Linked DNA regions of Homo sapiens: all the other regions are linked to region 5. Evidence: promoter capture Hi-C in 16 types of primary human blood cells and fetal thymus (Javierre and others, 2016). All regions are on one chromosome and are shown on one strand. The core of a region is centred on a gene start or on the middle of the fragment in contact, and the rest is flanking DNA. Distances in the headings are between cores, read along the strand shown.

The links. Contacts are between HindIII fragments. The CHiCAGO score rates a contact against its expected background, and 5 or more counts as called.
Region 1: the fragment with the promoter of NBAS here is called in contact with the fragment with the promoter of SMC6 in region 5 in 4 of 17 cell types (naive CD8 T cells, monocytes, M2 macrophages and 1 more); the score reaches 11.2 in naive CD8 T cells.
Region 2: a fragment that was not itself captured here is called in contact with the fragment with the promoter of SMC6 in region 5 in 2 of 17 cell types (neutrophils and activated CD4 T cells); the score reaches 8.1 in neutrophils.
Region 3: a contact is called between a fragment that was not itself captured here and the fragment with the promoter of SMC6 in region 5, in 5 of 17 cell types (neutrophils, activated CD4 T cells, total CD4 T cells and 2 more). The highest score is 7.6, in neutrophils.
Region 4: a fragment that was not itself captured here is called in contact with the fragment with the promoter of SMC6 in region 5 in 2 of 17 cell types (neutrophils and total CD8 T cells); the score reaches 12.3 in neutrophils.
Region 6: a fragment that was not itself captured here is called in contact with the fragment with the promoter of SMC6 in region 5 in 6 of 17 cell types (naive CD8 T cells, total CD8 T cells, activated CD4 T cells and 3 more); the score reaches 10.3 in naive CD8 T cells.
Region 7: a contact is called between a fragment that was not itself captured here and the fragment with the promoter of SMC6 in region 5, in 5 of 17 cell types (total B cells, naive CD8 T cells, non-activated CD4 T cells and 2 more). The highest score is 14.6, in total B cells.

The regions. Positions count from the first base shown.
Region 1 is chr2:15,559,725-15,562,800 of GRCh38, reverse strand. It overlaps NBAS (NBAS subunit of NRZ tethering complex), which reads left to right and starts at 1,467. Exons shown (of 52, transcript NM_015909.4): 1 at 1,467-1,613. The coding sequence starts at 1,497. It overlaps LOC105373440 (a long non-coding RNA gene), which reads right to left and starts at 653. Exons shown (of 4, transcript XR_001739297.2): 1 at 618-653. RefSeq lists an enhancer at 1,268-1,677. The HindIII fragment of the contact is 4,253 bases long and covers 1,441-3,076 here.
Region 2 is chr2:20,002,545-20,005,752 of GRCh38, reverse strand. It overlaps MATN3 (matrilin 3), which reads left to right. Exons shown (of 8, transcript NM_002381.5): 2 at 1-9; 3 at 2,467-2,592. WDR35-DT (WDR35 divergent transcript) reads right to left here. Exons shown (of 3, transcript NR_110235.1): 3 at 947-1,733. Among named protein-coding and RNA genes, the nearest start is that of MATN3, 8.5 kb to the left of the region's middle. The HindIII fragment of the contact is 4,251 bases long and covers 1-3,208 here.
Region 3 is chr2:19,972,491-19,975,483 of GRCh38, reverse strand. WDR35 (WD repeat domain 35) reads left to right here. Exons shown (of 27, transcript NM_020779.4): 7 at 851-1,016; 8 at 1,776-1,921. Among named protein-coding and RNA genes, the nearest start is that of WDR35, 16 kb to the left of the region's middle. The HindIII fragment of the contact is 1,882 bases long and covers 726-2,607 here.
Region 4 is chr2:20,045,065-20,048,503 of GRCh38, reverse strand. The region is part of intron 1 of LAPTM4A (lysosomal protein transmembrane 4 alpha); the gene reads left to right. Among named protein-coding and RNA genes, the nearest start is that of LAPTM4A, 4.8 kb to the left of the region's middle. The HindIII fragment of the contact is 1,471 bases long and covers 1,402-2,872 here.
Region 5 is chr2:17,752,199-17,755,691 of GRCh38, reverse strand. SMC6 (structural maintenance of chromosomes 6) reads left to right here and starts at 1,882. Exons shown (of 28, transcript NM_001142286.2): 1 at 1,882-2,066; 2 at 2,628-2,714. It overlaps GEN1 (GEN1 Holliday junction 5' flap endonuclease), which reads right to left and starts at 1,554. Exons shown (of 14, transcript NM_001130009.3): 1 at 1,347-1,554. RefSeq lists silencers at 1,767-1,906, 2,047-2,406. The HindIII fragment of the contact is 9,742 bases long and covers 272-3,493 here.
Region 6 is chr2:19,912,091-19,915,529 of GRCh38, reverse strand. It overlaps WDR35 (WD repeat domain 35), which reads left to right. Exons shown (of 27, transcript NM_020779.4): 26 at 1,253-1,493; 27 at 1,822-3,439. The coding sequence ends at 1,972. Among named protein-coding and RNA genes, the nearest start is that of TTC32, 12 kb to the right of the region's middle. The HindIII fragment of the contact is 181 bases long and covers 1,360-1,540 here.
Region 7 is chr2:15,585,803-15,589,033 of GRCh38, reverse strand. LOC124905975 (a long non-coding RNA gene) reads left to right here. Exons shown (of 2, transcript XR_007086224.1): 2 at 1-765. Among named protein-coding and RNA genes, the nearest start is that of DDX1, 4.4 kb to the left of the region's middle. The HindIII fragment of the contact is 6,453 bases long and covers 1-3,231 here.

The DNA of each region.
Region 1 (3,076 bases), core at 218-2,717, 2.2 Mb after region 5:
GGTGTGAGATTTAGGGGAGCAGGCAGATGACGTAGGGCTTTGAGGTCATTAAACTTTGAGAGAAATGGGAGCTGGTTAGAGGCTTCCCAGCAGAGGCTTTTAATTGCATCACCGCCTAATGCATCTTGATGGATATCATGAATATAATTATCTCAAGGGATATTCAGTATTTGTGTTTCTTTTGATGTGAAACAGTGTAATACTTTGTACAGTATATATTCATTCATGTTACAGTAGGCTCTGCTTATAACTGTCCACAAAGAGGTATTTGTTGAATGAATGAATGAATGAACAAATGGGGTTGACCTTTTCGCTCCCTCCATGCGGGTTCTCAACCTATTATTTCAACTTTATTGCCCCTACACCCTTTCTCAACTTGGGTTCTATTCACCCGTCTTGTTGAGTACTAATTAGGAAAAAAAAAAAGGCAGGCTAGTGGGAGCAGGGAAAAACAAAGAGATAAGGCAAATTAGCTATACGTCTGTCTTTCTTCATGGTCCAAAACATATAAACAAAAGGAAGAAACAAATAAGCCATAGGTCTACTTTTCTTTATGGCCCAGGACATATGGCCCTTCTACCCAGATAACGTACTTAACTCACAAACTTCCTGCTTACCTTCAAATGCCTCAATTTCTGAAACACTTCAGCTGACAAAAAAAAAAAAAAAAAAAGAAAGAAAGAAAAAAAAAAAGCAAGTTAACTCCCTGCTACCTGGTGTTATCAATCACTCCAAGTTCCAGTCTATAAAATTCTCAACAAGCCTTTGTTTCCTAGCAATGAGCTCCTCCTCTGCTGAGTCGGCCCGCTGCTCCCTGGCAACGAACTTTCATACTTTCTTTAATCTGTCTTTCTTTATCTACCACTGTCTTGGTAAATTCTTTTACTCCCACACTGAGAAAGTCGTCACTCACTGGCGACACGTTGAAAGAGTTCTTTCAACTCTGTATTTCTGCCTCTGTCTCTGCTCATTCCATTTCCCGCTACTTGAAATGCTTCTCCAGTAGATTAAAATTCTGCCTATTGTTAAAGACGCAGGGACAAGCTCCACGTCCTCCAGGAAATCCCTGCAGACTCTGGCCTTCGTTGCCTTTTCTGAGCTCCTGTAGCATCCTTCCTCTGCTACCTTTCATTGGATAACTTTAGTTGTTTATTTTAAAACCACTGTTTGAACTCTCTCTACGTGTTAGGCAAAGAATATACAAATGAACATTAGCATTTCAGTGGGGTACCTTTACCATTTCTGTTTTATGGAAACTGAGTTATAAGAGAGGCTCAATGACTTGGCCGATCTCATGTAGATTAATGAACAAGGAGTGTATCAGGACCGGGACACAAGTCGTTCCCAAGACAAGCAATAGTCCCTGTCCTTCCTACTCATAAAAGGGTTAACCTAGCATTTCCTTGCCGTGAAACAAAAGCGGCCGCGGATAGAGAAGCTTGTCCTGTGAGGGATTCCGTAGAGACACTCCTCCGCTGCCTGAGTCCTCGGCGAACATGGCGGCCCCCGAGTCAGGGCCGGCTTTGAGTCCAGGCACTGCAGAGGGTGAGGAGGAGACGATTCTCTATGACTTGTTGGTCAACACCGAGTGGCCACCGGAGACTGAAGTACAGGTGAACCAGGCCCATCTACAGCAGCAGCCAGCTTGGCGCGGGCGCTTCGTGGGTAGAGCCACGTAGCAGGAGCCACGTAGGGGAGTGGAGACGGGTGGGTGGGGGACTAGGGCCGGTTGGCTTGTGCGGTCGCCTTGGCAACGGCACCTTGGGCTAGCGGGGGTCTAGGGCGGGGTGGGGTGGTGGTCCCTGAGATTCTTCCTGGGCTCAGAATTCGGTTGTTGGGGGCTGGAACTTCGTGCTCTGGGGAGCGTACGATCCCACTTTGGTTCTCAGTTTCGCTCTCTGTATTGGGAGGAGAGGGGATTGTTAGTGTCGCTCTCTGTATTAGGAGGGGAAGGCACAGCGCTGGACTCGAGGGTCCTTTCTCCTATCTGGACCCTCAGTGGTCCCTTCTCGCGGTCTGGCTAGGGCTAGTCTGGGCCGACGCTCAACTGCGATGGGAGAATTTTCCAGGACCTTACAGTCTGCAGCATCTGCCAGGCTGGTGCAGAGCGCAGAATCTGAGCCTTTACCCATACTGGGGGCTGGATCGCGCCAGGTCTTGTGTGTTTCAATAAAAGAGCATTTAATAAGGGTGTGCGTGTCCGTTCGTCTGTCTCGGTGTCACAGGTGCTGTGCTAGGTGCTAAGGATACAGAGATGAATATGTTTTCGTGGAGCTTCTCGTCTAGAGGGGAGACAGTCCCGTAAACGTTTTTCATAACCTAGCGTTTTATGCGCTATAGTTAGCGATGTGAGCAAAATGCCACGGAAGTGCAGAGTAAAGAGCTGCTGACTGGGATTGGGATCTCCGCTACAGAAGGGTTATAGAGGTTGATAATTTATGGACTGGATCTTGGGATTATCAGTTGTTTGGTAGTGAAGGCCTCCCGGGTCTGTGATGAAGAGTAGGAACCATGGATCCATGTTTATTTTATTTTATTTTTTATTATTATTATTTTTTGGATCCATGTTTATTTAACAGATATTTATTGAGTGCTTAACACGTGCCAGTTACTGTTTTAGACCCAGAGGAAGCAGCCAGATCGAAAAGAACCTTTATTAAAGATTATGTAGTCCAGCCCATGTGAGTTATCTTACATTTTTTCTGAGTGTTTCTTTGCTGGAGAAACGACTCATTTTTCAGCCCAAAGTTTGTATTTTTTTCCTCTGTAGCCTCCTTCCCACTGCAGTTTGTGCTTATCATGAATAATTTATTTTGTAGACGGGTAGAGATCTGCATATATTACTGTTTAATTTCAAGTACTTAGTTTGTCTTAATGTGAATATTTTTTGGGTTATGCAGCTAGGAAGCTGTTGCTGAGGCAGCTGGTTAGATAAGTTTCCACTCCTTAACACTCATTGGTTAATTGCAGTAATGTTTCAGAATGCTTACCATAAATTGATTCCAAAAAAGTAACCACAGAATTAACTTACTTTGAAACCCTTAGCACTTTGTTTTGTGTTTGTGTGTTGGGGGTG
Region 2 (3,208 bases), core at 39-2,538, 2.3 Mb before region 5:
CCTTCTGTGGTAAGTTGGTCAGTCTTTGCTTCCAACTAGAAAGGATGTTATATTCAGACATTGTGTACCCAGAGAAAAGAGTATTATTCTTTTTTGGTGGAAATTTAATGAAAAACTTAAATATATCCAATGCGTGTGTGTGTGTGCACGTGTGCATGCGCGCGTGTGTGCGACCAACCTAAACACACTCTATTGGTTTAGGAATATAGAGCTGCATTATATGGAACTTGGTTTGCTCATAAAATCTTCATGTTTGCGTTAGAACTGTGAAGGTCTGCAAATATCCAGGATAAATGACCCTGCTGTTCCCTGTCAGGGTCAGGAAAAACAAAACTCAAGATGCCTCTCCTGTCCCCTCTGCCCCACCACTACATTTTTTTCCCCTGATACATATTTTTTTAGTTTTACCATCTCTAGATCTAACAGAACTCTGTTTGTTCTCCTGCAGAAGACAGGGAGAAGCGTCTGTCCTTGGGAGAGTCAGCAGGCCTCTATTCCAATGTCACCGTCAGCCCGAGTGTGCATTTAGTGAATGCTCTGGTTTTCAGACTGGGCTGTTTATCTGATTACTCTTTGTTGAAGAACAGGATTCAGGGACCAGGCAGATTAGGGTTTCAGCTCACTTGAAAGAAAGCAAGATGATCTTAAGAAATCATTCTGTTAACTCTGCTACTCCTTCCATCCTTTAGGATGGAATTTGAATAAGGACATGCTAATTTTATTGGAATTTTTAGCATGAATTGACCAAATCTAGGACTACAGATCCATTCAATGCTGGAGTTTAATTTTAGTCACTGATCAGAATTATGATCTGTGGGACTCATGCTTTATTTTTTTATCATCTGGAGATAATCTTTTGTTCCCTCTATGTGAATATCCAAGCAGTTGTGGACAAATTTCTAGTTCAGGTGAATTTTTAAACATAGATATCTTTTTGCAATATAATTTATTTCACACTTATTTATTCAGCATGCATTTATTGATCTCTGATGATACAAAGATAAAGGTAATCCCTCCATACCATTAAGTAACATTCTGGGGGTGGGGGTGAGACAAACAAATGAACCAATAATTAATTACAATTATACATTTCAAGGAGACTTTTAATCTAGGTTAATGTGAAACGCAGCCATCAATGGTTTGTCAGGAAAAGGGAGATGAAGTCTTGCTCTGGGGCAACGTTTGGCCTCATTGCAGTCAGACTTGGCTGGGATCCCCTTGTCTTTCCTGTCCCAGGACACTGGGCTTTCACAAGCCATCACTGGCTTTGGTGGCATCTACTTGGCATTCGTTGGCTTCCAAAAAGAAAGTGGCTTTCTTTCTCCCAGGAAATCACCCTCCCACTCCATGCTTGTGGGTGAGAGCCTCTCCATCAACATGCTGGTCTGTGGCAAAGTTGGGTTTCAAAGCTAGCACCTGGGGTTGGGCTTCGAAGGCTATAAAGTAACAAGTGGTGAGTGGCAATCTTTTCCTTCTGGTACAAAAGACCTGCTTGTTCTGGGGGAAAAACGTCCTCTCTATGGAAAAAAGACTGAGCGGCAGCTTGTTGTAGTCAACGGGTTGGAAAGATCATTCCATGAAAAGGCCCTTCTTGGGAAAATATTAGCCTTGTCCTGTTGCCAAGGGCAGTGGAGGTTGGGTTACCTGCCACAGGAGGGCCAGCCTCCTTCAACAGGCCTCCTTGGTTTCTCAGAAATGACTTAATTCATTGATTCATCTTTCAAAAGAGGTCACTAGGAAAAAAATATCCAATGAGATATAAATGGCTCCAGGAGCAATAAGATGGAGATGTAGTTTAGCTAATGTAATCTCATTTATTTTGTTCTTTTCTTTTTACCTGTTTGTATTAGCATATGAGTTCACTATGGATTTAGCGTATGGATGACTTCACCCACCTTACATATTCAGAAGACAGTTACCCGAACTGTCCTCTACCATTTGCATGTTCAAATATGTACCACTGCCCACCTGTGAGTTCGTTCTAGGCTTAGACCCAGACTTGTGTGAGAATTCTGTTTAGACATAGGCTATAGAACCTTGGAAATCAGATTCTGGCTACAATGGGACAACTAGCTCACGTCACTTCAGGCTGTGCATTTATTGTTCTCCCATTTCTTGTGGTGGGGAAGCACAAATCTTTTTTTCATGGGGAGGCGGATAAGCCAAATAAAACATCCAATTGCCTGGCCTATGTAAGTGTTTGGCTTCAGCTCCAAACTCCAAATTCCCTTTCTCCCTTGAGAAAGTCTATATAGCAAGATGTGTACTTTTAAATTAGCAACAATTTCTAGTTTAAGAGTAGCATTGCTAATAAGCCAGAGGCAGAAAACAAATAACCATTTTTTTATAGTGAAGTAAAGATGGACTCGGAAAGGAGCCCAGAGAGCAATGTCTATTGACATGGGAGACGGTATCTGAGATGTTTCCTAAGTGTCAGTGCTGACTGTTGTAAACTTCCTCTCACAGCGCTGGACCCCTGTGTGCTTGGAACACACCAGTGCCAGCACGTCTGCATCAGTGATGGGGAAGGCAAGCACCACTGTGAGTGTAGCCAAGGATACACCTTGAATGCCGACAAGAAAACGTGTTCAGGTGAGGCCTGTGTAGGGGGCCGTGACTGAATCAAATACTTGGGAACCTATGCTCCAGGTTTTGGACTGGCCTTGTGCTTTGACTCTCTGACCCCTTTTTACCTAACTGCCTTTTGGCTGGTTTACTGGTGTTCATCAGCAGTTTTCCCTGAAAAGGAGCTTAGGGAGAAAAGTGAAATGATAGATAAATCAGCTTATTTCCATACTTTGTAAGTTTTAAATAAAATCGTAGGAGAAAAGGCTACTAAGAAAGAGGTCCAGGCTGAGTGCAGTAGCTCATGCCTATAATTCCCACATTTTGGGAGGCTGAGATGGTAGGATAGTTTGAGGCTAATTCGAGATTAGCCTCGAGAACATGGTGAGACCCCATCTCTACAAAAAATAATTTAAAAAAAAAAGCCAGGTGTGGTGGTGCATGCCTGTAGTCCCAGTTACTTGGGAGGCCGAGATGGGAGGATTGTTTGAGACCAGGAGGTCGAGGCTGCAGTGAGCTATGATAATGCCTCTGCTGCACTGCCACAGAGGGAGACCTTCTTTCAGAAAACAGAACCCACACACACAAAAAGGAAAAGAAACGGGTCCAAGATTCTTAGCCCTTTTGAGGATTTGAAAATTTT
Region 3 (2,993 bases), core at 417-2,916, 2.2 Mb before region 5:
TATCGTACATATCATTCATGTTTGTATATACATTTATTTTTTATGGCGGTTTGTGTAATTAAAGTCTTCAATTCAGATTTTTTTTCTTTTTCCCAATCGTCTAAATTTTGTTTTAATTAAATAAAATTTTGGTTTTCTCAAGGCAAATTAGTGCAACAAGTTCGAGTGTAGCTTTTAGTTCCAATTTTTTTTGGTAGGTAGAAAGGACGAGGTGTCAGTGCATTTAAGCAGAGAGATAATGAGTAGGGCGATGTGCAGTTTAAGTTTTATAGGTGTCTTCTGGTGTCTGAAGCCAAAGTTTACATGTAGATACCACAGGGTATTTTTGTAGCAAGCTACCAATGGTTGTTTGTAAAAAGAATGACAGACTTAAATGGTAAGTGAGAAAAATCAATCCCTGGAAAGAAGGTAAAATAGAATAGGATCAGGCAGCATAATCTGGAGAAAAATTCTGGCTTTGCAAGGTTTAGCTATCATAGATGTATGATTACTGGTGGGGCAGTTTTGTTTTTTAGCAAGGGTTAGGACATTAAGTAAATCCACTCACTGGTGGAAGTAAAATAATGAACTTTTATGTCATTTTGCTGTTTTCAAAGTACTTTTATATACTTGTTGTTTGAGTCTCATAAAAACTCAGTGTTTTTTAATCCTCATTTTTTACATGTGGGGAAAATGGACATTTAGGTGATTTGTCCATGGCCTGTATACCAGTAAGTGATTAAGCTTTAATTTGCCACCTGATTTTTAGACTGTATTTTTCAGTGTTCTTTCTACAATACTCTATTGAGTATTGTCTCTATACTGCTGTGTTTTAAAATGTAAAATATTAAACCTAACCAATTTTATTTAGATAAAAATGAAACTGAGTTGTTTGGTGAATGTCACTGGAGCTATCAGCATTGCTGGAATTCATTGGTACCATGGCACAGAAGGCTACGTGGAGCCTGATTGCCCTTGCCTTGCTGTTTGCTTTGATAATGGAAGATGCCAAATAATGAGACATGAGAATGACCAAAGTAAGGAATTTTTCTGTTTAAAAAATTTTTTTAATTTCTATTTTTTTTTTTTTCTTTTTGAGATGGAGTCTCACTCTGTCGCCCAGGCTGGAGTGCAGTGGCACGATCTTGGCTCACGGCAACTTCTGCCTCCCGGGTTCAAGCGAATTTCCTGCCTCAGCCTCCCGAGTAGCTGGGACTACAGGGCGTGCCACTATGCCTGGCTAATTTTTTATATTTTTCGTAGAGACGGGGTTTCACCCTGTTAGCCAGGATAGTCTCTATCTCCTGACCTCGTGATCCACCTGCCTCAGCCTCCCAAAGTGCTGGGATTACAGGCGTGAGCCACTGTGCCCGGCCTCAATTTCTAATTTTTAACTTTTTTTTTTTTGCGACAGGGTCTTGCTCTGTTGCCGAGGCTGGAGTGCAGTGGTGCGTTCTTGGCTCACTGCAGCCTTGGCCTCCCAGGCTCAAGGTCTCAGCCTCCTGAGGAGCTGGGACCACAGGTGTGCACCAACTCCTCCAGCTAATTTTTGTATTTTTCGTAGAGACAGGGTTTCACCATGTTGCCCAGGCCGATCTTGAACTCCTGGACTCAAGTGATCCGCCCGCCTCAGCCTCCTAAAGTGTTGGGATTATAGGCGTGAGCCGTTGTACCCAGCCCTGTTTTTTTAAAAATGTGGAAAGTTTTAAAAATGTTTAAAAGTTGTTCTTAAGATTATAAAGTTCTCTAGGCTACGTATTTTCCCACAGTGACCTCATTTTTCTCTTTCTGACTAGATCCCGTTTTGATTGACACTGGCATGTACGTAGTAGGCATCCAGTGGAACCACATGGGCAGCGTGTTAGCTGTGGCAGGCTTCCAGAAGGCAGCCATGCAGGACAAAGATGTGAACATTGTGCAGTTTTACACTCCGTTTGGTGAGGTAAATGCATTCAAATTGATCTTCTTTCTTTCTATTTAAATGTGCAGTGAGTAAGGTAGAGGAAAAAATAACAAAGGAAACGGTGTAAACTTATCACATTTTCTTTTAGGGACATTTCATCTTCATAGTATAAATCTTTGTTGTATTTTATCATGGAATTTTATAATCTTATAGTTTTATAATTATAAAATAAAAATTACAATTTTATACATTCAGAAAACCAGAAGTTTAACATAAGAAATCACCATGGAGTAGTTATTTTGAATATTTTCTCTGTGATCTGAATATGTGTCTCTTTTCATAGCCAGCTTTTGAGTAGTATTTAGTATAATATAGTTGTTTCAGATTAATTTTTCTGATTTTTAATGTGATATTTTAAATGTGTTTAGATGTTAAACATACATATCTGTCTGTCCTTCCTTCAAACTTCTAATACTTTTAATTTGTTGCAAAGTAATCAGTTATTTGAAGAAAATTTAATAATTAATCTTAGGTGATGCTACATTAAAATAAAAGCATTGTTTTCATAAATGTACATATGAGTATTATCCTTCTCAATAGTATTTTTAATAAATTTAATTTTAAAAGAATTTTCAGAAGTAGCATTGGAAAATGTCAAGTAGGAGAATTAATATATTGTGAATTTTAAAGAATTTAGAAAGTGAGAGCTTATTAATAACTAAGCTTAATACGTTTTTTGAATGTCTTATTTTCTAACCCAGTACTATATTTTGTCCCTTTTGAATACCCTGTTGGCTTTTATAAATTCGCCATAGACTACAGTGATATATATTTTTGGCTGCATAAAAGCCTATACCAGTTGTTTTAATGTTATTTTTATATATTTTAATAATTTCTTTTAGGGCAAGAAATGATGTCTTCTGATGCTTTTGAATCAGTATCTCAAAGTTACCCAGTAGAATATACTGTAGAACGTAGATGCTCTCTATACATTGTCAAACGACAATATTTCTCGTAGATGTAAAAGTGAAGGAAAAAAAAAAGCATAGTTTTCAAGGTTCCTAAATAATTAAAAATCTGCATTCTAATTATTTCTATATTTATAGCCTCC
Region 4 (3,439 bases), core at 888-3,387, 2.3 Mb before region 5:
CTAAAATATTCATTGTATGGTACAAAATAGTGCTGTGGGACATAGAGAAAGCCAGAACCAGTTATTATATGCACCGGAGGTACCAGCCCTGAAGTGTGAGCCTTTCGTATTTTAGCTAGAAAAGAAGCATACCTGGTTAAGTAACAGGAAATTTCAGAATGAGCTCATGTTTAAATTCTGGCATTCCTGAAATGGTTTTCTCTATCATTTATTGAAGAATTTGAAGCCAGTTGATTTTAAACAAGTTTCTTATGAGGTATAAACTCAAATGTTTATTGAATAATTGAAAATGGACTTAAAAGTGTGCTGTAGTAGATATACTTTGTGATTAATGGTGTGCACTACAAGACTACATTTTGAGCATTTGTAATAATTTTATCTCTTAGACTTAATATATGGCTAATTTTTCATGAGTGTCTCAACCATAAACAGTTTGAAGTTCTGTATCTGGGAGAGAAGTAAAAACAGGTTTCCTTAAGCTCTATTCCTTTCTAGCCCTCACCTCTGACTTCAAGTAAGCATAGCTTGTTTATATTTGTTAGTTTCCTTCCTTAAACTAAGGAAGTTTTGTGCCTCTGCCTTTGCATATGCTATTCCTTCTCCCTGAAATGTTGCTGTCCTCCCAAGTCACTTTCTAAAAATTTTATTAAGGAAATTTTCATACATACAAAAGTAGTGAAGTAGTACGAAAACCTCCCATTTATTCATCACCCAGCTTCAACCATTAACAACATTTTGCCAAGTCCAGATAATTTAATGGTTAGCTCACATGTTTTCGTGGTAAAACTTTCCTTTTTTTTTTTTTTTGAGACGGAGTCTCGCTCTGTCGCCCAGGCCGGACTGCGGACCGCAGTGGCGCAATCTCGGCTCACTGCAAGCTCCGCTTCCCGGGTTCACGCCATTCTCCTGCCTCAGCCTCCCGAGTAGCTGGGACTACAGGCGCCCGCCACCGCGCCCGGCTAATTTTTTGTATTTTTAGTAGAGACGGGGTTTCACCTTGTTAGCCAGGATGGTCTCGATCTCCTGACCTCATGATCCACCCGCCTCGGCCTCCCAAAGTGCTGGGATTACAGGCGTGAGCCACCGCGCCCGGCCTTTTTTTTTTTTTTTCTTTTTTGAGACAGAGTCTTGCTCTGTCACCAGGCTGGAGTGCAGTGGTGCGATCTCGGCTCACTGCAACCTCCGCCTCCCAGGTTCAAGCGATTCCTCTGCCCCAGCCTCCCAAATAGCTGGGACTACAGGCACCCGCCACCATGTCGGGCTAATTTTTTGTATTTTAGTAGAGACGGGGTTTCACCGTGTTGGCCGGGATTGTCTCGATCTCCTGACCTCATGATCTGCCTGCCTTGGCCTCCCAAAGTGCTGGGATTACAGGCGTGAGCTACCATGCCCAGCCAAGCTTTCTTTACTTCCTAGCCAGGGGGATCTGTTTTTCTCACGGTGCACCTGCAAAAGTTTCTGGATCCTTCTTGTATGTACTTATTAAATAGTACTCAGTACACATTGGTAGGATTGTCCTTTTCTCTTATTTTTCTCTCTACAGCAAGATGTTCTCCTGGAGGGAAGAGGGTGATGTCTTTATAAGGGCAGTGGCTCACGCCTGTAATCCCAGCATTTTGGGAGGCCAAGGCAGGTGGATTGCCCAGGAGTTCGAGACCAGCCTGAGCAACATGACGAAACCCCCTCTCTACCAAAAAAAAATATATATTATATTATATATATATTTATATATTATATTATATATATATTTATATAATATATATTTATATATAGATATATAATATATAAATATATATAAAACATATAAAAATATATATACACACACACATACATACATATATATATTAGCGGGGCATGGTGTGGTGGTGCATGCCTGTAGTCCCAGCTACAGGGGAGGCTGAAGTGGGAGGATCACTTGAGCCGGGGAGGCAGAGGTTGCAGTGAGCCTAGATCGCAGTAACTACTCTCCATCCTGGGTGACAGAATGAGACCCTGTCTCAAAATAAAATGTGTGTGATGGCTAACTTATTAATTAAAACATTTGAGGTGTTCATTACACATTTGTTGAATGAATGTCTCCTCCAAAAAATATTGTGAATACTCAGTTGTATCTGCATGTAACAGTAAACAACAACAAAAAACTTTTTTTTTTTAAATTATACTGTAAGTTCTAGGGTACATGTCCACAGCGTGCAGGTTTGTTGCATAGGTATACATGTGCCATGTTGGTTTGCTGCACCCATCAACTCATCATTTACATTAGTTATTTCTCCTAATGCTATCCCTCCCCCAGCCCGCCACCCGCTGACAGGCCCTGGTGTAGGTGTGTGATGTTCCCCACCCTGTGTCCAAGTGTTCTCATTGTTCAGTTCCCACCTATGAGTGAGAACATGCGGTGTTTGGTTTTCTGTCCTTGTAATAGTTTGCTGAGAATGATGGTTTCCAGCTTCATCCATGTCCCTGCAAAGGACATGAACTAATCCTTTTTTATGGCTAAAAAACGTTTTAAAGATAGTCAATTTTGATCTTTATCAGATAACAGGCTTTGCTTAGTTCTGTAGATTGACCCTCCTGTGGGTGCTTTCTCTGCATGGGAAGCCCTTATCTGGATGCCTCCTTAAACCAGACACACTGTTTTAATTATTATCTCAGTAGATACTGGCTCTGGGCAAATTACTGTGGGAAAACTGAAAAATGATTTTTTTTTTAAAGTCTCCAGAGAATCTTCTGGAATAGGTGTGGCAGTGAAAGAAGAAAACAAAGAATTCCTCTCTTCAGGCCCTGTGCTTCCATGGATCTGATACAGTTATTTTGTAACAAGTCAAATCTAACAGATTTCTTATTGTACACACTTACATAAGATGTAGAAGCTTTCAAAAACAATGCACACCACCTGATTTGACTGATTAAATTTACAGTACTGTTAACACATTGAGTGGTGAATCCGCAGCCCATGCTGCTAAAATATTGCTGCATTCTATACCTCTCCATATTGCCAAGTTTAGAAGTTAATAATTTAATCTTTTTTTTTTTTTTTTAAAGAGATGGGGTCTTGCTATGTTGCCTGTGCTGGTGTGCAATGGCATGATTATAGCACACTGCAGCCTTGAACTGGGCTCAAACAATCCTCCCACCTCAGGCACCTGACCAGCTGGGACTACAGGCACACACCACTGTCCCCAGCTTAATCATTCTTTTTAAATTACATTTTTATTAACTTTCTTTCCTGAATACAGTGAAAGGAAAAAGTGAATCAGGAATAAATATTTGTAATAGTTAGTACATAGTTGGATATTTTCAGAGAAATTTTGTATTGTAAGATTACAGTTAATTTTATGTATTTTTTGAAAAGCTAAACATGTAATTTAGAAATATCAACTTTAATCAGAGATAAGTTGCCAGGGCTTACATGTGAGCACAAGGTAGGCGTTCGTTGGTG
Region 5 (3,493 bases), core at 633-3,132:
GAAAATTTACTTCGGAAAAGCAGAAAATGCTTAAATTTCCCAATTTCCATTTAGATGAGTATATATTCATATAAAGACTGGTAAATGGTGAAAACTATTTCAATGCAAGATTATATTTTAAGGGATTTACCACATAATCTCAGTAACTAATGCTGTTCTTTAAAATTATTTTTTCAATTTTATTTTCATATGAATTTAGCCTAAACGTTGAGGCATACTTCACGTTTATCAATAAATACTTATTAAATGTCTACTATTTAACAGGAAAGCTTTATAGGTGCTGGAGATACAATAATGGAAGATCAAGCCCTGCATTTAAAGACCTTAGTAGGGTAAGTGAGACTGCAGATAAAAAGGGCTTAAGAGGTAAGAAAGCAAGCTATAGTTGTATTTAGGAAAAAAGGTCCCCCACTTAGGAATCAAGGAACGGTTCCTGAAGCAAGTGACATGTAAGTAGGGACCTCCCAACCGTGTTTCCCATTGGTTACAACAAGGCCAGATGTTTTGGTCTATTTTGACTATGTCATATTTTTCGTTGATCCATGGCAAGGGCCACAGTAGGAATATAATATATATGTGATTACTTTTAGAAATAAAAAGTGACTTTGATGTAAAGAATTCCATTACCGGAGGCCAGAATTTCAACATCAATTTATTTGGAGGTGGAGTGAGGTGGCAGTCAATGCATTATTTTCCCCACACAGAAGAGAAGATTTTGGAGTATGAAAAGTAGGTTACTTGTTAGGTCAGCATATTCATGGGAAGGGTTGTGTAAAGACTGAAGCGGGAGTGTGGGGTTGAGAAGGGCGCTGAAACCTAAGCCAAGGAAGTTAAGACTTCATTACTTCTGACGTTTATTTAGGGGGTTTACACTCTAGGTTACCGTGGGGGAAAGACTGATTGTAAATAACTACAATACCTTAAAGTAATTACTATAACAGAACTATATCCGAAATACAAGGTTAACACGGAAAAGGGAACACCCAACTGTGCCTATGGGGACCAGGGAGGGCTCTCCCGGGATGGCTTTGAGCGAGGCGTGGGAATTATCCCCATCGCATGCCCGGGGGAAGCACAGCGGGACCCAGCAGCTTCGGCCAAGCGCAAGCGGCCGGAGAACGCGCAGCTTTCCCGAGGCGGGGTGACGCAGGGCCCTCGCGAGTGGAAAACAGGGGCCAAGTCGCGGCCTGGCGGCTCGGTTCGGACTTCCTACTTTATTCAAAGGGAGTCATTGAAGGCGTTTTCGGAGGAGCAGCGAACAAAGAGCTCGTCCGTAAGCCAGATGGTCAAAGGAATCAGTGGGAGGACCCGGGCGGCGCCGTCTCTCCACGTCCCGCGGGACTTACCCGGACAACCCTTCCTCCTTGGCTCTGGAAGAAGCCCCTTCGTCATTTACCAGTTTGGCCTGAATCCTAACTACTGTGCCTCCAAATTTCTGAATTTTCTCAAAAGGAAAAAAAAAAAGGAAAGTCCTCTTTCTTTACCCAAGCAAAGACTAGCTCCCCGGGCTCAACCGCCAGGCCCAGGAGCACCAGGAAGCGTTTCGAATCCAGCGCCGGGCCCGCGCGGCCCCGCCTCTTCCGGGAAGTGACTGACCCCTTTCCCCCAATGGGGCCCGCTCGGCTTTCCCTTGCCGGCTCCCAGCCGGCCTAGCGGACGCATGCGTAGACCAGCTGCCGGGGGCGCTCAATTATCTTTCCCTTTTACTTAGGCAAATCACTCACCTCCCCCGAGTCCGGTCACTGCGGAGCCGCCCGTGCCTACCAGCTTCCCCCACCCGCTAAGGGGCACTTCCGGCCTCTCAGACTCCGGCGGCGCGAAACCCCGCAACTGCGCAGGCGCGGGCGGAGCCCGAAGGGAGGGAGGGCGGGGCGCAGGCGCGGTTAGTACCGCGGTGGGCGCCGGGGCTCCCGGGAATCTACCTTCTCCTGCGGCCGGCACGCGGTTCCCAGGGGGCCAGCGGCGGTCAGCCGAGGTCGAGACGCCCGCAGGGTGGCCTTAGCGGCCGGTCGTACCACGGCAGCCCCGCCGATCAGGTTCCTTTGGGAGACTTCGACTTGTTGGCGGTAGGGTGAAGGCGCGCGCTGTCGCTTTCCCTTGCTCCGGGGTTCATCCTCCGCCCGCTGCCCCCTTGGCTGGCGACCCCCAGCCACCCGGGAGAGGCAGGGTCAGCTGAGCTGCGGCGGTGTTCATGGTCGTCCTTGCGGGCCCGGGCGGGAGATGTCCGTTCCTCGGGCGGGTCGGGCGGCCGGCGGCACCTTCGCGCGCTCTCCGAGGCGGCACCGGTCTCCTGAGCCGCGGGAAACCTGGCGTCTGCTCCGGGCCGTCCCCTCCCAGGCGGCCGTCCCCTCCCAGGCGGCCGTCCCCAGACTCTCCCGGGCTGTGGCGAATAACTGTAAAGCGGGGAGAGGTCTGGGGAAAGCTGGGGTAGGGAGTGGCTCTTAGCATGAGTCTGATGATATCTCGCAGGCGGCAACTGGTGTGTTTAAAGGGTGTATGCAAAGATCACTGAAATCGGATTTGTCATTAAAGCCCAGTTTTACGAAAATGCAAATTGTATTACCTAGAAAAATTAACATGTGTTCAAAGGTTTACTGATGGCATTTCTCTGCCCTCATTTCTTACAGAAATGAACCGGAGAAGAATCCCAATTGGGAATTGCGGAAAACAGGACTCTAGGGTAGAGAAAGGTTGTAGAACCAATAGGGTTTGAGGTAATACTGTGAAAATTCTTAGAGCAATCATTTGGTGTTTGAGCCCTCAAGACAGAAGTTTTGTGAGCGCTTATTACTCTGCATATGTCACGAGTAGTAGATTAAAAGCCAGTGTTTTAAAGGCAAACTTCTCAGTAATATATATTCAAAGGAAAAAAGAAAAACCCAAATCTCCTGACTTTTATATGGTTGCAGTGTGATCTTTTAACATGTACAATAGTATATACAGTGGCATGCAGTTTGTTCCATGGGTGTGTGGGTAGAGAGGGAACATATTAGAACTTCTATTTAGATTTATTTCATTTGATTTCTACGTGAAACATAGGGTATTAATTTTATGTTGGAACATGTATTTCAAATTTCTTTTGCTTAATGGGTGCAAGTACAAAACGTTTGGAGGCCACTAGTATATTGCCTAAAAGCGTGTATTTATATCACAAAAAGCCAGAATTGTGTGACTCTGAGCAGGTTGGTACCACCTCTTTAAGTTTCAGTTCTTCTTATGCAAGTTGGAAGAAATAATACAGTTATCAGTGCATCCTCTGTATCCGTGGACTCAATCAAGGGACTGAAAATATTTCAGAGGAAAAAAAGTGGATGGTTGCACAGACTTTTTTTTGTTCTTGTCATTATTCCCTAAACAGTACAGTATAACAACTATTCACATAGCATTTGCATTGTGTTAGGTTATATAAGTAATCTAGAGATAACTTTTAAGTATGTGGGGAGGTTATATGCAAATATGACACCATTTCATATAAGGGACTTGAGCATCTGTG
Region 6 (3,439 bases), core at 201-2,700, 2.2 Mb before region 5:
CATTTCTAGACTTAAAAGAACAATTAGATCTTTAACTTGAGATGCTTCACCTACTAGGTGAAGATCTCTATATGCCTCATTTTTTTTTTTTTTGTCAGTGGTAAGACGATCTGAAACAATGTATGACCTGTAAATTATTACCCTTGAACCTATCATGCTTTGGATATGAAATTAGAGGATATTGTTTATTGTAACTGAGTGATTACATTTTATATACATTTTTTCTACTACACTTTGTTGTAAATACTTGACCCCAGAACCAGTTTATAGGATTCTGATTGTAAAACACATGAATATATTGTTTAAACTGGTTTTATGAAGTTTTTGATATACTATAACAAAGTATTTTTAAGATTCCAAGGTCTAGAGAAGAAAAAGATACAAATTGGTTATAAATCTAATATTAAATCTTAATATTAAATCTAATATTAAGTCTGCTTTTTTTATTATACTTTAAGTTCTGGGGTACATGTACAGAACGTGCAGGCTTGTTACATAGGTATACATGTGCCATGGTGGTTTGCTGCACCCATCAACCGTCATCTACATTAGGTATTTCTCCTAATGCTATCCCTCCCCTAGCCCCCCACCCCCAACAGGCCCAAGAATACAGTGCATTTTAAAGAAAGATTTTTTCATCTCCAGTATAATTGCAAATAAGATGTTGTAACTTGAATTGTCTCAACTGACAACTTGGAGACTCATTTTCACTTTTTCACAAAATCCTATTGTTTCAGTGAGACAAATGACAAAAGCAGTAATACAAAAGCAATAATCTGTCCAAAGAAACACAGAGAAAAGAACATATTATTTTATACTGTTTTGCTTATATTGTTTTGCTTTTTTTTTAACAAAAGGAAACATGGTATTATCTTGCAGTTTATGACTAACATAGTATAATACTCATTTGCTTTTTATGAAGTGCCACAGAAATTTCTAACATAAATTGAAGAAAATGTGGATGTTTTGACACCAAAATTTTGTGTGTGTGTGTGTATTTCTGAGCTGGCACAGCCATGTGCAGCATTTGGTGGTGGTTCTTTTCATAGGATGAGCTGTTAGCCAGCTTCACAGAACCTTGGATATCATGTAGCCTAGTTCCTCCTCTTGGTGCTCCCATCTCTCAACACTGTTTGCTTTCAGTTCGTTCATGCAAGTTCAATGAAATCACCTTAACTTAGATTCTTCTTTTGCATGTTCATGATATCATAATAATTATTTTAAAAAACCCCAATTGCCCTGTTTTTCTTAGCTCTTCACCTGAAAGACTATGAAGACATCATCCCTCCTGTGGAGATCTACTCTCTGCTAGCACTCTGCGCATGCGCCAGCAGAGCCTTTGGGACTTGTTCAAAAGCTTTCATTAAACTTAAATCTTTAGAGACCCTCAGTTCAGAACAGAAACAGCAGTATGAAGACCTTGCTTTAGAAATCTTCACCAAACATACTTCAAAAGATAACAGAAAACCTGAATTGGACAGCCTTATGGAAGGGTAGGCTAATTTTAATTAGTGGATGCCATTCTATCTTATTAGAAGCTTGGATTTCTAGATGTACAATGTTTAATGTAGGAATTAAAGCACTGAATTTTGAAGCAATTCACATTAACATTATACCCTATTTTATTTATTTTTACAAGTGTATTCATGCTTTATTTTGTCATTGTAAGAAAGGTTTTTTCTTGAAATAACTTTTTTAAATGAAAGTATTTGATGTTCATCTCAGAAGTTTTATTCTTTAGGTTTTTTTTAAGTGTATTAAATAAAGTTAGACTAATGAGAAGTTTTAAAGTATAATGAATTGTTTCTCCCCGTTTTACAGTGGAGAAGGGAAACTGCCAACATGCGTTGCCACAGGAAGCCCAATCACTGAGTATCAATTCTGGATGTGCAGTGTATGCAAACACGGTGTCCTTGCTCAGGAAATAAGCCACTACAGCTTCTGCCCCTTATGCCATAGTCCAGTGGGATAAAGGAATGATAAACTGTATATAACTGTAAAATATATGTAGCATATATACATGGCTATATGCTGTATATGTAATAAGGTTTATTTCTGTGAGTTTTGTATGAAAATCAGCCTCATTATTTATAGTTGAATTTTTGCACAAAATATATGTTAATAAAATAATTTTTATGGCAATACAACTGTGAAATAATAAGGCCGATTTTCATATAAATGTATGAAAATCAACCATGTTTTCTCTCACCCTCTCTCTTTTGTTTATCTTGTTTTTGGTTACATGATACCATGGAAATATTCCAAATAAATTTTTTTCTCACAGTGTCAAGGTAACTGAATTCATTAAAAAATCTTGAAGGGAGTAGGGAGTGGGGGAAGCATGGGAGTGGGGCAAAGTTGAATTTAGAGAATTTTTATAACCCATGTTACAAGGAAGTTAAACAATTGTAATAATGAAATGAGCTTTCTCTATAGCCATATTTAATTAAATAAGTGTCGAATGTCTTCTTTATTGTATTTTCAGAAGTGAGGCGATGGCATTTTAAGACATTTTTTACAATCTGAATTGTTTCTAATAGCCCTATTCTTCTATTTTAAAACCTGTCCTTTTAGTCTCATTTAAGAGATGGCATTTGGAATTTACACTTTCATATGATTGTGCAGAAAACTTGCCTCTATTTATAATGAAGATAACTTAAACAGAAATATCCATTTTGTAGTTATAGCTTCTGTTGAAACATTGTCACTAAGTTGGACCGTTTATTTACACAAGTATTGTTGAGGGAGTGATTTTTTCTTGATATGCGTCTGTTTTCATTTATTATTAATTTGAAAGATAAACAGTTGTGATCCATAATGGATCATTTCTTATGTCTTTTACATAGCTAATAATGTTCTCTGTTTATTTCTCATGAATTCCCATTTTGTGGCTAAAGACCAGACCTTTGCACTATTTCATCAAGATTATTTTATTGAGGTTTGGCTTACATATAGTAGAGGCAATACATAGAGATACGCAACTTTGTTTTTGCAGCTACAATACACTTTCTCAATCTCATATGTTTTTGTCTTGTAGAGACAGAGACAAGTTCAGCATGTTGCAGATTGGGAATAGTGAGCTATGAGAAGAGATTTAGAGCCTAGATGAGCTTAGGATAGAGAGTGGGCTCATTGGCCTAAATAAAAAGAGAAGACCAGAAGTCTTTGAGGTCTCTGTCTCTATTCATGCGCCTCGTGGAAAATTACCTTGGTACAATGGTAGCCTCTAAATAGACTGCCTCGCAAGCTATTCCAGAGGTCATGGAACAGAAAGCCTTATAAACCAAATAAAAATTCTCAAAATACATTGGTTTATTGAACCAATTTGCAATACACAGTGAGGAACAAGGAGAAAGCAATGATAGATTAACACTGTTAGTGTAACGTGCCAGTGGAGTGGAAAGACCGCAACACCTGAATCCTGGGTTTTGTAATGTTT
Region 7 (3,231 bases), core at 516-3,015, 2.2 Mb after region 5:
CACGATCCTGGACATGATAGTTTACAGAAACGAGGGTATAATTAGATGAAAGTAACCAGACAACTCTTCATTGTCTCAGAGTGACCAGAAAAGCTCTGGAAGATGCCAGAGACTTCATCTAGGTCAGGGAAAGAAATAACCCATAGAGATGATTTCAAGGTAACAGATAATGTTTTCTGTTTGTGCCTTATCAAGTTCAGCTCACTTAATATACTGCTTTAATAATTATAGATATTTGTATGTATGTGTTGCAGTGCCCTCAGTAATGCAAATTGGGATATGTGAATTGGGGTATGATTGGCTCCTCTCCTTGGCAGGTAGAATAACACCAGGCAGAGAAACAGCAGCCAGGCCCTTCACCAAACCAAAAGATAGAGGATGGGTGCCTTTCAGTCTGGTATTTTGCTGGTCTAGTCTCCCCAAGAATAGGTTGATTTAATGGTTGCCTACTAACTGGGAGATTCCTAGAAACCCTGGCCTGGTCCCAGAAACCAGGACAGACACCACCAGGTGGCACCAAACTGTAGCCAAACTGAGAAGAGATTGGACTGGACCCTAAAAACTCCCAGCGTAGGCTTTTGTTCATCTGTCTCCATTTATACAAATGGACGTGCGACATTTAAGGCGGGTGATGGAAGTCTTCAACAACTGGATTGTGGTGCTGGTTGCACAGCTCTGTGAATCATTGAATTGTACATTAGTGAATTTTATGGTATTTAAATTATACCTTAATAAAGCTGTTTAAAAAATTATAATTAAAAAACACATATGGCTGAGCGTGGTGTCTCATGCCTGTAATCCCAGCACTTTGGGAGACCGAGGTGGGTGGATTACCTGAGGTCAGGAGTTCAAGACCAGCCTGGCCAACATGGTGAAACCCTGTCTCTACTAAAAATACAAAAAATTAGCCGTGCTTGGTGGCGGGCGCCTGTAATCCCAGCTACTTGGGAGGCTGAGGCAGGAGAATCACTTGAACCCAGGAGGCGGAGGTTGAAGTGAGCCGAGATCATGCCACTGCACTCCAGCCTAGGCGACAGAGCAAGACTCTGTCTCAAACACACACACACACACCCCTCAGCCTGGGCTTGCCCCCAGTATTTTTTTTTTAACCTCAGAATAACCCCACATTTTCTGTAATTGGGTAGTTTGGGCCCCACTAATCATGTGATAGGGAAGTTTTACTATGTTATCCATGGGCCCAAGATATTATGCTATGTATTTTCAAGTAAGCTATATTATAATTATATCCCACTGTAGAGCAAATGGTTTTGCAACTACTAAGGCAGACCTGAAAAAAAATGCCTTCAGGTATCTGGGAAAGTGTAGAGAGGATGGGTCCTGGGAAGGCCTCTGTAGATGGACCACCCAAAAGCCATACACAGTTCCTAGGTTAGCTCATTTGTGCTGCTATAGCAAAATACCTGAGAATGGCTAATTTATAAGGAACAGAAATTATTTCTGCCAGTTCTGGAGGTTGGGAAGTCCAAGATTAAGGTGCCAGTAAGTTTATAGTCTGGTGAGGGTTTGGTTTCTGCTTTTAAGGTGGTGCCTTGAACACCATGTCCTCCAGCAGGGAGGAGCTCTATGTCCTTACATGGCAGGAGGTACAAGGGCAAGAGACCAAATGCTCCATGAAACTTCTTTTACAAGGGCTTCAATCCCATTCATGAGAGCAGAACCTTCATGGGCCAATCACCTCTTAAAGGCCCCCCTCTTAAAATTACATTGGCAATGTGAAGTTTGGAGGGAACATTCAAACAATAGTAGTCCCCTTTCCCATTGCCTTTCTTTATTATAGAAATCTGAAAAAGGCTGGACGTAGTGGCTTATGCCTTTAATTCCACCACTTTCGGAGGCCAAGGTGGGAGTATGACTTAAGCCCAAGAGTTTGAGACCATCCTGGGCAACATAGAGTCCCTTTCTCTAACAAAACTTTAAAAAATTAACCAAGCATGGTGGCACGCACCTGCAGTCCACCTATTTGGGAAGCTGGCCGGGGGAGGATCTTTTTTTTTTTTTTGAGATGGAGTCTCACTCTGTCATCCAGGCTAGAGTACAGTAGAGTACAGCAGCGTGATCTCGGCTCACTGCAAGCTCCGCCTCCTGGGTTCACGCCATTCTCCTGCCTCAGCCTCCTGAGTAGCTGGGACTACAGGCGTCCGCCACCATGCCGGGCTAATTTTTTTGTATTTTTAGTAGAGACGGGATTTCACCGTGTTAGCCAGGATGGTCTTGATCTCCTGATGTCATGATGAAGGATCATTTTTGAGCCCAAGAGGTCGAGGATGCAGTGAGCCGTGATCACACCACTGCACTCTAGTCTGGGTGACACAGCCACACTCTTCTCAAAAAGAAAAAAAAAATGGAAACTTGGAAGAAGAAGAAAACAATCACCTTTCCAGATTCCTTTGTAGAGAGACAGCCCAGAGACTCAGCTCTGCCTGGAGAGATATAACTGGCAGTGCCAGGTTGGGACTTCCAGGAATGCTTTTCAAAAGGGAAAGATCTGTCTGGCATGCACCGTTTTTCCTTTGGAACATTGATATGATGCCTGGAAAGTCAGCAATGAGTCCCGAAGATAAAAGCCGCACACTAAGACTACTGAAGCAGAAATAAAAGGCTGGATCCTTAATGATGGTAAGCCCAGGTCTGTCTACCTCTAGACCTCTCTTGCAGCTTGAGAATGTCCCAGTTAAGCCACTTTAAAATTTCTTTTTTCTGCAGCCCAACACTTTGCTAAGAGGTACAGAAAAGAAAGGAAATAAAACACACATCATTATGGATATTGTGTAATGTATCTTTCAGGAACATTTTTTGAATGTTTCATAATACAGCAATAATCAAGCTATTCTGGCTAAAAGGCGGAGGAGACATTTGGCCTGAGTTGTGAGGGAAACATCCAAAATTATCCCTGAATATATGGCCATTTCCTCACAATGAAAATGAAGGTGAAATGTGACATATACAGTAGAGGATGTGACTCTGAACCCAGCCTAGGGAACACAAGTCAAATTAGGTTGTTTAGTTTGTCCTTTCATTGACATCCACCCTCCTCCTCAGTTCCTATTCCCAGGTCCTTCTGGAACAAGATAAAGCCAGCTGCTTAGTTTCTGAGGATCTCACCACCAAGAAGGAGGAAGCAGCTAGAGAGAGAATTTGTTTTAATCTAAAAGAAGTTGAGTAGAAAATACAATATCGTCATCCATAAACCCCCTCCCTCACAAAGTCCTT